2 separate regions of the Homo sapiens genome follow, and region 2 is linked to region 1. Evidence: promoter capture Hi-C in human tissues and cell types (Jung and others, 2019). All regions are on one chromosome and are shown on one strand. The core of a region is centred on a gene start or on the middle of the fragment in contact, and the rest is flanking DNA. Distances in the headings are between cores, read along the strand shown.

Evidence for each region. Contacts are between HindIII fragments. The study calls those that stand out against the background at their distance.
Region 2: a fragment that was not itself captured here is called in contact with the fragment with the promoter of TENM4 in region 1 in 1 of the 25 tissues and cell types used here (dorsolateral prefrontal cortex).

The regions. Positions count from the first base shown.
Region 1 is chr11:79,436,209-79,442,279 of GRCh38, forward strand. It overlaps TENM4 (teneurin transmembrane protein 4), which reads right to left and starts at 4,822. Exons shown (of 34, transcript NM_001098816.3): 1 at 4,301-4,822. RefSeq lists silencers at 4,411-4,520, 4,781-4,950. The HindIII fragment of the contact is 13,466 bases long and covers 1-6,071 here.
Region 2 is chr11:78,644,576-78,650,657 of GRCh38, forward strand. No RefSeq gene overlaps it. Among named protein-coding and RNA genes, the nearest start is that of NARS2, 73 kb to the left of the region's middle. The HindIII fragment of the contact is 3,185 bases long and covers 743-3,927 here.

The DNA of each region.
Region 1 (6,071 bases), core at 3,572-6,071:
AGATGAGGAAATGTTCTAGGTTAAAAGAGTTTAAAGAGACATGAAAAGCTGAATGAACTCATAAGCCAGGATTTTCTATTGCTATAACGGACGTTATTGGGACAATTGGAAAAATCTGAATAAAGTTTATAGACTGGATCATAAAAAAAAACCCTGACAGTGTTGCAAACTAAGTAATATTGTGCCATTTTACAGGGGAGAGGACTGAAGCTCCAAAGACAATTTGCCTAAGGCCACAGAGCCATGATTCCAACCCAATAGTTAAGAGATTAAAGTCACATCCTATCACCTTACTCCCACAAAACCACAAAAGATTGAGGAGACTATACCAAATAGAATCAGATTCTATTGGAAGAGAGTCCGTGGGAACCCATTACTCTAACACCTAGCCTTCTACCTCATATTCCAGGTCACTCCACTCACTATAGAACTATCCTTTGATGGTTCTTGTTCAGACCAAGCACTAGTTCTGCCCGTTGGCATCCGCACTGGTCAAGGCCGGTCTATTAGGGTGGCTGATCCGCTTACCGCACCACTCTACCTCCACCCCCAAACAGAGGCCTTGATGAAAACAAGATGAGAGCAGAGGAAGAACCCAAGAACTCTTTCTAGAAAACCAAAGCTCTCCGTCCCTGATCCCTTCCCCCACCACAGAAGATGGCAATTCCACAAGCCTTCCGCACCCTGCCCTCCCCTCAGTTCAAGACACATGCTGGAAATAAAAGCTTCCCCGAATTAGCCCCCTAAAAGCACACAAACATCTATGCCCTAAGTCCTGGCTGAATATCTTGAGGACTTTCAGTTCCCCAAACATTTCCAAGGACCTACGGCACACAGGTGCCGCTAAAGGAGACACCCGTTCACTCCAGGCAATCAGCTCCAACAGGTCCAGTTCCACTAAGTGGAAGGGCTTCCCGTCAACACCCTCACCGGAGAAAACGGATTCCTCCTCAGCATTCCCTTATAACACCTGGAAAGGGGAAACCTGTTTTTTGTGCTATGTGTGACTTCGCTGCAAATCTCTCTGCTCCCCAACACATGCACACACACACACACAGGCGCGCAGAAAACTAGTTCCCACTGTCACCACCAGTGAAAACACCCCTCGTAACTTTGACGAGAAGGGCTCCCCCGCTGAAAGCCCAACTGCAGAGCGCCCGGAGCGCGCTGTGAGTCCGCAGGAACGCGGCCGGGCCGGGGACGGGAGAAAGGCGCGGCCGGGACCCTGCACTGTGCCGCGCGGCGCTTGCGGCTGGAACTTGGCCTGGAACGCGGTCTTCTCGGCTCCAGTTTCCCGCCCAGGCCCCGCCCACCCGGCCGCCCCGCTGGTTCGCACCGCTGCTCCGGCCACCGAGGAGCCCAAAGTTGGCGGCGTCCCGCGGACTCCGGCGGAGAGCGCGAGGGAGTCGCGGCCGACTCCTGTACCACGAAGACAACTGGAGGCCGGCGGGGGAGGCGGGCCACGAGGGGCTGGGGCGAGGGAGCTGGGATGCGCGGGCCCGGCTCGCCGGGAAACAGGTTGCCGCGGAGTCCCGTCCCCTCCCCCTCTGCGGTCCCCGCCGCGACCTGATTCCCGCCCTGCCCGGGGAGCTAACCCAGCCGCCTCCGGGGCGCCCTCCTTCTTCCTGGATTCCCACGGCTGGACCAGAGCCCCTCTGGCAGCCGGGTTAAAGGCTCCTTCAGCAAGGTCAAGGCGCGGCCGGCTGGCACCTGGGGATTTTTTTCCAGCCGAGCACTGGCTTTTCAATCGCATTGTTAAGGATCATGGCAGCGGCAGGAAATCCGAAGGGCCCCACAGGTCTGCGGGAGGGAGGATTTATTTTACAGCAAGGAACAGATTCAGACAGATCGGGGATTTCAGTGGGAGGGGACGAGAGGTTTCAGGACGCTGGAATGTGGCAAAAACAAAACACTCCCCACCCATGCACATCACCATCTCCTGACTGCGGGCTGGGGGGAAGGGAGTTCAGGGCCAATGTGTCCCAGACTTCAGCGTTCCCCACGGCTGTGTCAGGGCTGGGGTGGCTTATCCCCCTACAGACGAAAATCAAGATTTAAAAGCATACTCTTACTGTGGTTTCTCTATCAAAGCCCATCAACGTGATACACAGGCTGCGGCGCTGGAGGGAAGCGGCGAAACGGGGAGAATAAACGCAACAGAAGCAAACTGCTGTCTGCAGAGGCGAGAGGCGAAGGAACGGAAGCCATACCCGACCCCAGCCCCATCCCGTCCCCATCAGCGCCGGGCTAGCGCAGGAAACCAGGAATAGGTGTAGGTAAGGGTGGCAGCCCGGCAGAGCCAGCGTTCTACTCCCTCTAACCCCTCGCCAGCGTGGGCCTGGATGGCTGGGCTGCCTGGGCATCTCCAAGGGGGACCAGGCACCGCGGGCAGGTTTCTAAACACGTGAAGGGCACAGGGCTTGAAAGACAAGGAGGGGCGCCCAGGAAGGGCGGAAAAGAGGGGCTTTGGGGCTCCCCAGGACACCAAGTCAGTTTCTGAAAACGGCGTTCCCTGGAAGGCCTTCCAACACCTCCGAGGGAAGACTTGGAGCTCTGAAGACCCAATGAAACCTCAGTTCTGACTGACTCCTCCTCTGCGATCAATTCCGGATGCCCCCACTTAGTCCCTGCCTCGGTAACCGGTTCTTTGGGGACAGCAGCATCAGCACCCGACGCCCATCGCACAAGTGGGCGCCGTGGTGCGAGGCGTATCCTAGCTACCCAGGCCGGGGTGGGGGCGCCCCGGTACTTACACTCCCCAAGCAGGCAAACTTTCAGGCTTGTCTTTCGAGAACCGGGAGCTCGCATCACAGTTCCGGGTAATCACCGAGGCAGCTTATGTAATTGCCCGCGATGCCGCTCAGCAGATCTCTCTCCTTACTCGGCCTCAGAGCTCAGTACATGGGCACCCTCTTCCCCCCACCCCCCACCCCGGCGATTGGAATCCCGAGCTTGCCCCACCACCGCCTTCTACAAAGCAGCGGGGTGATCTCGTGTGCTACAAACACCAAGCCAGTATGCAGGTTCAGGCAAAACTCTGGCTGCCTCCCTGCGCCCCTTTCACTGCGTCGATGGTTTACAGATAACTGCATTTCTATAAACCCTCTCTCCACGGTTAGGGGGTGGGAGGGAGTTAGAGATCGGGTGGGGGCTTGGCGCGGTACTGTTGAGGGCTCTGCACCCAACTGAGCAGTAATACACTCATCCACATGGACGCGGGTGCATAAATCGCCTTAACATTTTGCCCTGAAAGCGGAGCCAATTTCCAAAGTTAAGGACCACGCAGCTGAATTTCCAGTACTTTCCAACCTCGCCTAGGCGGGGGCAGGCAGAGAAGGGGCGGGCAGCGGGCAGCTAACTCGCCCGACCCCCCCGCCAAGAAGGACTCACTAGGTGAACCCCCCGCCCTTCACCCAAGTAGTTGGTTGTGTATTCCTCGGTTGCGTGTGTGTGTCCACACACACACACACACACACACACACACGCCGCCCCACTACCTTCCAGTCTGCTCCTCCAATGTAACGACCGCATTTAAAAATGGCAATTAAAATGACTGAGGAGCTCGGTGATCACATTTCAACCCAGAGCACATTTCCCGAAGCTGGGGGTGAGAGTAGTCATACAGTCACACTCACACCCGGGAGCCCTCCAAGCGTCCATCTGGCGGCTGCAGCCTCAGTTGGCTCCTAGACGAACATCAATACCGCGGCCGGGCGCCCGGTGAGGAGAGGCGGGCGCCCCGCGGGTTGCAGAGGGCGAGGAGCTGGGGTCGCATCTCCAGGATCTGAGCTCCAACCACCGCCCGTGCGGGGCTGCTGCAGCCGGCACTTGCCCCGCAGGGCAGGCTGCAGCCGCTGAAGCCCGGCGCCGCCTCGCGGGCTCCTCCAGCGCCCGACGGGGGCCTGGGGCGAGCTAGTCTGCAGAGGGGCTGCAGGCGACCGGGCCGGGGCGGGGAACGGGATCCGGGAGAGGCAGACGAACCTGGGGCGCGCCGCCTCCCTCCCACCCGCTTCCCACCTCCCTGCCCTCCCCCAACCCTTGCTCCCAGGCTCCAGTCCGCGGCGGGCTCCGGGGGCTGCGGCGGCTCCAGGCTCCAGAACAGCTTGCCTCTTCGGCCACCCGCGCCCTAGCCTCCCTCCTCCTGGGCCAGGGGAGCAAGCAAACATCTCCCGGAGCCCTCGGCAGCCGCGTGAGCTACCCGAACCCTGCCCGGGCCAGCAGTGCAGAGGGCGATGGAGCTGGCGAGGCGTCGCCGCGGTCCCCAAGGCGCTTTTCCGTAGAGCGGATCACGCCGCCTTACCGTGGCTGCAGGCTGCTACCGCCGGGGAAGCGGCGAGGACGGCGGCAGGGAGGCAAGGCGCCGCGCCGGTGGCTCCTCTCTCTCTCGGCGGCGCGGCTCCTCTGCTCCGCGAGCCGTAGCGGGGCGCCCAGGAAGGAGCAGGTCCGGGCTCTGCGCTCAGCTCCAGCGAGACCAACAATAGCTCCCGCGGGGAGCGGAGCCCCAGCGAGCCTCCAGCCGCGCGCGCACGACCGGCTCCCGCTCCCGGCCGCTCCCGGCCGGCGTCCCTGCCAGCACTGCTGCCCCACATGAAACAGCTGCAATCCCGAGGCTTCTGGGGGGTTGGGGCGGGTGTGTGCGCGCGCGTGTGTGAGTGTGTGTGTGTGTGTGTGTGTTTAATAGCTTCCCTTCTCTTCTTCCCCTCCCTGCCTGCTCGCCTGCCTGCCTCCGTCCCCCACCCTCGCTCTCTTACACACAGAAAGAGAGGGCGAGCGAGAGAGAGACACACACACACACGCACACGCACACGCAGGTTACATGAATGGGAGGCGGTAGCCAATCCTACGAGGCCGGCGAGCCGCGCGGCGCACTGGCGCTGGGAGCAGGGCCGCACTCCGGCGCGGGGGGGCGCCACGCAGGTGATGGGCGCCTCTCCGGGGGCCACGCGCGGCCGCTCCCTCACCCCAGTCTCGGTTCCTCTGTCTCCTTCCCCCTTCCTCTCCGCCGCCTTCTCCATCTTCTCTCCTTTTACCTCCTTTGCTTTCTCGAGTTCTCCGAGCTCTCTCAGTTCGGTATCTTTCTGGTCTCTTTCTTCTTTTACCCTCCTTGCTTGCTTTCTCTTCCCCTTTCTGAAACTTTCTCTTTTCCTTTCTGGACTTTCTTGTACTTCCTCTCCTCTTGCCTTTTGTTCTTTCCTCCTCCTTTGGCTTTCTCTCCAGGCTCCCCGTAGCACGGTCTCGTCCCCTCTCCCTCCTCTTCGCCTTTCCCTGGGTCTCTCTGGCGCCCAGGGCCTCCCTTCTGCCTGCTCGCTGGATGTTACTCCACACCCCCCACCCCAACACTTTTCTAGGGACGGTCTCTTTCAAGTTGCTACTGCAGCACAATCAGAGTAATTAAGAGCTGAGATCTTGAGTTCCTTCTTCAGGCATGCAAGATGCCCAAAGAAAGGCCCTCCTTCCTCGGACAACTTCCCCAAAACCATGGTAACAGCTACTGAGTCGTGATAACAATCACTTAAAAAATAGCAGTGATTGCGGTCCAAGAGATTTCTGTCCCTCGAATGTTTGGATCGTGATGGCAAGCACATTTCCAAGAGAAGGGCATTTTTATGTGATGAGAGCGGTAGTTTGACTGAGTGGCAACTTGGAAGGGCTTTGGGGAAGAGACTGGAGGAATTCCCACTCCAGCCCTGCTGCCTGCTGGCTAAAGGACTTAGTGCGAGCCATTTCCCCTTACCCGGCTTCAGTTTTCTCATCTATAAAATGGATGATACCGACTTCACCAGTTTTGGTGAGGATTAAAAGAGAGAACAATGGAAAGAAAGCACTGGGTGTATATGAGATGCTTAATTTATGTTAGTTTCCTTCTTTAAGACAACTTCCTTCATGATCTTCTGCTACAGTGTGTCTCTCTGATCTAAAGTAGTCAATGAAGGAGGAAATGTGACAATGCTAATTTCACATAAATGTGAAAGGAGGGGTAGGCTATTTTGAAAACTCTTCTGTGTGGTGAGGAGACTGTCTAGCCAGTTGCCATATGCTGATTATAAAGGCATCACAGATTATAAACGTGG
Region 2 (6,082 bases), core at 1,085-3,584, 790 kb before region 1:
AGTGGAAAAGGGAGGTGAATTCTGCCAGTTCAGTGGCCCTCCAAATTTTGTTCTTCTCCAATCTGGCTGCCACTATTTGCTTTTCGGCTCCACATAGCTGCTCTATGCAGCCTGTGCAGGTTCTCTAACTGCTCCACTTACTTGGATATTTTACTTATTTAAAGAAGAGTTCCAGTTAATGAAGGAATAATAGACTAAGAAGTCAGCATTTTTTTATTTAACGTCACCAAATCTTATCACTAGAAGTAGAATAATCAAACACTATGTGTCCCCCATTAGATGTAATAGAAAGTACCTATGAGTTAGTCTTGCTTAAAACAATTGAACCTGAATTTAATTAAGCCTTTAGTGCTACATGCCAGCTTCTAGGAATTATGAGGCCTGAGAACAAGTAAAGTGACACCATGAAGAACTAGCCGCTAAATCCAGGTTGTGAGATATCCTGGAGTACAAATAACCTTTTTCTTTAATAAATAAATAGCATTAAAAAGAAGGGAAAACTATTATAGAATGGAGAGACTTCAGAAACACAACACATAAAGGGGGGATAAGTAATAGTACTCACGAGATTCTTAAGATTCAATTAGAAGAGCAATGTGAAGTGCTTTTCACAGTGCCTGGCAAATGGTCAATGGAAATGATTACTACCTTGTGCCACCTCTCAGAGTCTCAGTCTCCTTTTGTTTGTAACACACTAGGAGATGACAGCCTCCCCCTGTCTTAACAGTTAAGGAATTCAGCCACCTTAGTCCTCCATCCCTCTGCACCTGGTCAAGAAGGTGGCCTTGGCAGTATCTGCTGCAGTGTGCACAGTTGGCCGGTAGATGGCAGCTCAGGCCAGTTTATCTGGAGCCTTGGACCCAGGAAGAGCTAGTTCTGTTTTTGCTGCAAGAGGCTAGGTCCTGCTTGACCACCCATCAGACAGTATTCACCTTCTCTTCCTAGGTAGGAGGGATAAAGCTAAAGGAAGAGAATCGGTGGAGCTTTTTAGATATAATAAGGGCTAGCAGTTTGCTGAGAATTCCTTATCTGCTGGGCAGAGAGGTATTCTTCAGACCCCATTAGACCAGGGCTTGGGCACTGCCTGGCCAGCTGTCCCCAAACTCTGTTTCTCATCCCGTGAGTCCCAGTGCCTGCTGCCTCATCCTGAATCACTGGTGTGCAGGTACAACCTGGCTTAGCTTCTCTTCCCACCAGACTGAGGGAATTAACACCTACACACTCATCCACACCTGGTGTAAGATGTCCTTGAGGGAAAGTTTGCAGAATGAGTAAATAAGTGAATGCCTTATGGATCTTCAGTTATATATCTCTCTTCCTAAGTAGACCAGTAAATTCCAGGACAGGGTGTACACATTTTCTTTTTGTCTCAGCCTAGGAGGGAGTCTGGGTAGTGATGAATCGTGCAAGCCTGGAACTAGGTTGCTCAGCTTCAACTCCCAGTTCCATCTGCTTGCTACCTCACATGCCCTTGGCAAGTGCCTGCCTCTCCGCCTGAAAATTGGATACTAACAGTACCTCTCTTGTTGTACTGTGGTGAGTAATAAATGAGCAAATGCATTCAAAGTGCCTAGGAAACTGCTTGACACATTGTAGGCACCCAGTACATGTTAATTGCCATCTGAAGCTTTCCTTGCAGTGGGAAAGATTTAATGAACTTACAAAAATGCATTCAAGGAAGAAGTGTAAAAGGCCTAGTGTGGTTGTCTGATAGAGGGAATGGCTCTCAAGAAATAGCTCCTTCTCCTCCTCCTTGTTCTGCTTGTTATTGCTGTTAGCATCATTGATTGTTTAAAGATGCCTAAGTTAAATCTCTCCAAGCCCCATGAGTCGTGAGTGCTGTTTTGTCCACCTTTTTCCAACCTCAGGCACAGCAGCAGCCTCTGTAGTTGTCTGTATGGTGCTGGGGGCACCACATTCAGAACTGAAGGATCCTCTTCACATTGGCCCAGGGAGCAGAGGGAAGGTAGGGACTGCTAGAGCTAATTTTCCTGCTTTTCCTTTCTGGTGTGAGAGTGTGAGGTGCTTTTAGGGCATCATCTGAGAGTCATTGCTGAACCTTGGGACTGTTGTACAGGTCGAAAGGGTTCTCCTATGGAGGTCGTCTGAACTCTAGGAAGTACAGGAGCAGGACAAGGGATGAGCATGATCTTACCTGATCTCACCCATGTTTTTCTGCCTATCAATTTGGAGGAATGGGAAAGTGTGACAGGTGGCCACTAGGTGGCGTTATCAATGTGAAGAAATCAGGGGTGTGTTAATACATCACCTGTCCTGTACAGTAGAGTGGAAGAGCAGATAAACGCCTAGCTGGAGAAAATAAAGCTTCTCATATAAATGCTTCCCAGCCATCTGGCAAGATTTTGGGTGGAAATGGAGACTAACCCAGGAGAATGTGCATGGTGTGTGCATGAATATTTAAGAAAACCAGAGGAGGAGGAGGAAAAGTCAAGTCTACCTGATTGGCCTCTGCCCACCTGTTCAGCCCTAACTCTTAAGGCCCCTCCCCTGGCTCCCCCACGATATGCCAAGCCACCCGCAGGACACATTGGTACCTTAACTCTACGACACCCTCCACCTGGAATGCTCTTCTTCATTTCTTTCTTTGAACAGTTAAGGGGTTGCCTTCCTCTAGAAGCCTCTCCTGATTTATCCTCCCCTAGGCAGAACAGGTTTGTAGTTTCTTTGTGCCCCACAGTCTTTACCTGTGCTCCAAGTCTTTGCCACTTAATGGACTTAGATGTTTACCACTGAGTGGGGGTTTCCTGGCTTGGAGCTGGTGGGAAGGTCTCGGCTGGTTCTATCCAGTCCTGACCCAACATGTATGGAAGGGCTTTCCTGCCCACAGCTTCCCCACCCATTTGGGGGGCTCCAGGGCTCATCCTCTGCCTCAGGTTCTTGAGAATGTCCTAGAATGCTGAAAGTTTGTTCACACTGGGTAAGCAGTGTGGACAGGGCTGCCTCCATAACTTGCACAGCCCAGTACAAAGTGAAAACACAGGACCTTGTTCAAAAATTAAGTGTTTCAAGATGGCAACAGCAGAGCATTAAACCAAGAGTGGGCCCTAAGCGCAGGACCCTGTGTGACTACACAGGTCGCACGCCTTTGGAGCCAGCCCTAAATTTGGAGTTGAGCGAAGTCTCAGGTGAGCCTTGTGCCTGTGGATGGGTGACTTTCTGGGCACTGGAAAGGTGGTTGTCCATCTTCAGATGTCAATGTATGAAGCCTGTCACATCAGAAACTCCCTCACTCCTGAGCTTTAAGATGTAAGATCGATAGCCTAGAACTTGGAGTTAGGTAAATCTGGACTGATGCTGATTCTATCATTTAATAGCACAAACCATCTCTGGGTCTTATAAAGCTCATCTGCAAAATGGAAGGTAATAATACCTACCATGAATTTTGTTGTAGGTTCAAATGAGATTAAATGTAGGAAGTACTGGGTCTGCAGCCCACACCTATCGTGTCTACTGAGCCACACTGCTTGTCCTCAAAAGCATCTGATTAGAGAGAACAGGGCAGATGTTGGGCCTAACAGTTGGGTGGCACTTGCTCAGTGAGGTGGGTCACCATGTGATGAAGCCCCAGTGAGCTCCTCCTGAGCTCTGTGGTCTCAGGCAGCATCAGCTGAGTCAGGCAAGAACTGATGGGGGGAACTAGGGAGACCTGGAGCAGCTCTCAGATAACAACATCACCATGGGGAGATCCATTTATCATTTATCTAACAAACCTGTGTACAAGGTTCCTGTGCCAGGTACCAGGGATACGGTGGTAAACCAAATAGGTGGGGTCCCCCCACCCCGCGTCAGCTTTAATGCACGTGATTATTGTGTCCTGTTCTCTTGGATGCATCCTTTGCTAGCCAATAAGCAACCAGCATTTACTAGGTGCCTACTGCGGCGTAGGATATGAGATTTCAGTAGATGCTGTGAGACTCCTTCAACCCTCTTGGATGGAAATGAATGAAGCCTGTGTGCTTTCATTCCCAGCAGCTAACACCTGGGAGTCTTTGTAGGCAGGCTGTCCTCAGGCTGCCAGAGCTCATTTTGCCTGAGTGCACGGAGAGCCAGAAGTGCCTGGGTAAAGACAGTCCCAGGAGCAGCCCTTAACTGATGACTGGCAGGTGCAGAGGTGTCAAAAGCCCAGCTGCCTGCCCCCAGGGGGAAAACTCCCAGGTGTGACTTGTTATGTTTCCACAACTCTCCTGCAGGACTTAGCCAAAATTATTCTCTTGGAACTTTGCTGGATTTTCACACCCTTGATCGGCCCTCCCTATTTCCTCTCCCTCATCTCTATTTGTGTACCCATTTTCCCTGGGACCACTTCCTAGTAACCTACTTTCAGACACATCCTTATCTCAGGATCTGTTTATGGGGAACTCCCTGACCCACAACAGAAAGAGGAGAAAAAAGGAGGTAGCAATTGTTCCTGGTCTTTGTGTTACTACAAACAGTGAAGCAATGGGCCAGGAGTCAGTCATTATGAATACTAAAGTACTACTTGGCAAATTATTTTTGCTATAAATTAGCATGCCTTCAGAATTGTCCCTGTAACGTGATCTTTCTCTTTCTTGCTTGCATTCTGAGATGCTTTATGAGTGGGGGAAAAAGAAGAGGTGTTCCTGCGTGCTGGGATTTGCAGATCACCGCCACCCACGTCATCGCAAATCTAGGCATACCTATGGGAGTGGGTCCTACATCAAACATCAACCATTGTGGGTTTTGCAGTGTGAAAAAAGTGGAGACATGCTGGATTGGAGCCCCAGGAAATTTTGGCTTCATGCTTACTGGACTTGGTTTCCAGAAGTGAGGCTCGGAGGCCCAGGCTCCCCCAGGTCCACATGAAAAACACACTTTCCTCTCACCTGATCTTTTCTCACTAAATCCACCTCTTCCAGGAAATTTTCTCGGGTTCCTTCCTCTCTTCACTCAGCCCTCCCTGAGTTCTCCTTTGGTACCGTGGAAAGCAGGTTTTGTTGGAGCTACTTTCTTAGCACTTGGGTACTCCCCCTCTCTCCACCCCCAAGCCAGCTGGAGGCGCTGAGTTTTTAGCCCAGATCACAGGCTGATAGAGCACATTAGGAACCTTAGCCATGGGCAGGACGTGGGGGCTGGGGCTGGTCCTGCTGTCACAGAATCATGGCTATGGGCAGGTGATGAGATTGTGTCCCCCAGAGCTTGGTTCTCCCCACCACCAAACCCATGTGAGTCGAGTGTGGACACCAGGGCACTTGTGTCCATCTCACTGCCACGTTATCACCTTGCCCTGCTTGTTCCTCTAGCCCCTCTGCCTAGACTGACACCTCCAGGGTCTGGACCAGACTCTTGGGTGTTGATGGGATTCTGCTGCCAACAGAATTCTGCTCCTGTACCATCCAGTCTGCACCCTCACACTCCGTAGTGTTGGAGCCCTGGCTGCTGTAAAACTGGCAATGTCTCAGACGCCAGACTGAGCTCAAGCTAATGGAGCCTCTTGAGTCCACTGGGTGGGCCTCAGGCCACCTCTCTGAGATTTCTGGGTTCTAGCAAGCTTGGATGCCGAGGCTTCTGGAATAGTGACAGAGAGCACATGCTCCTTAGTATCACAGAGTCTGTTTTCTGAATCTTTCTAGACTCCCTGATTGAGTGGTGATGCTTATCAGCAAAGGGTCCTGTCTTACACCTTCAGGTTTTCTGAGGCTGCTTAGGCTGGGATCTTGTATATATGAAGTGCTCATTAAATGGCTGTTGACTGATTGTAATTCCTCCTCCAGGCCTTGTCAAGGGCCTGGCTATGGTGTTTATTCATACAGTCATCCATTCTCTACTCATCCATTTACTCACTCATATAATAAATATCCGAATCTGAAAGAATGACCCCATTTCCTCTATTCTCATATCATAGGTTGTTACCCTAAGAACTTAGATATTCATCAGAAGGAATTTCAAAGCTCTACTGCGTCTTGGCCCAGGTAACGGGTACAATTCCTAACTCTGGTAGTCCTGGGAGTGGGCTTATTTTGAAAGCTCTACATACAATGGCAGCTTCTGACGTTCTTTGGGACAGGATGGGCTTGCAGATTACAGGGCAGATAGGAGAATG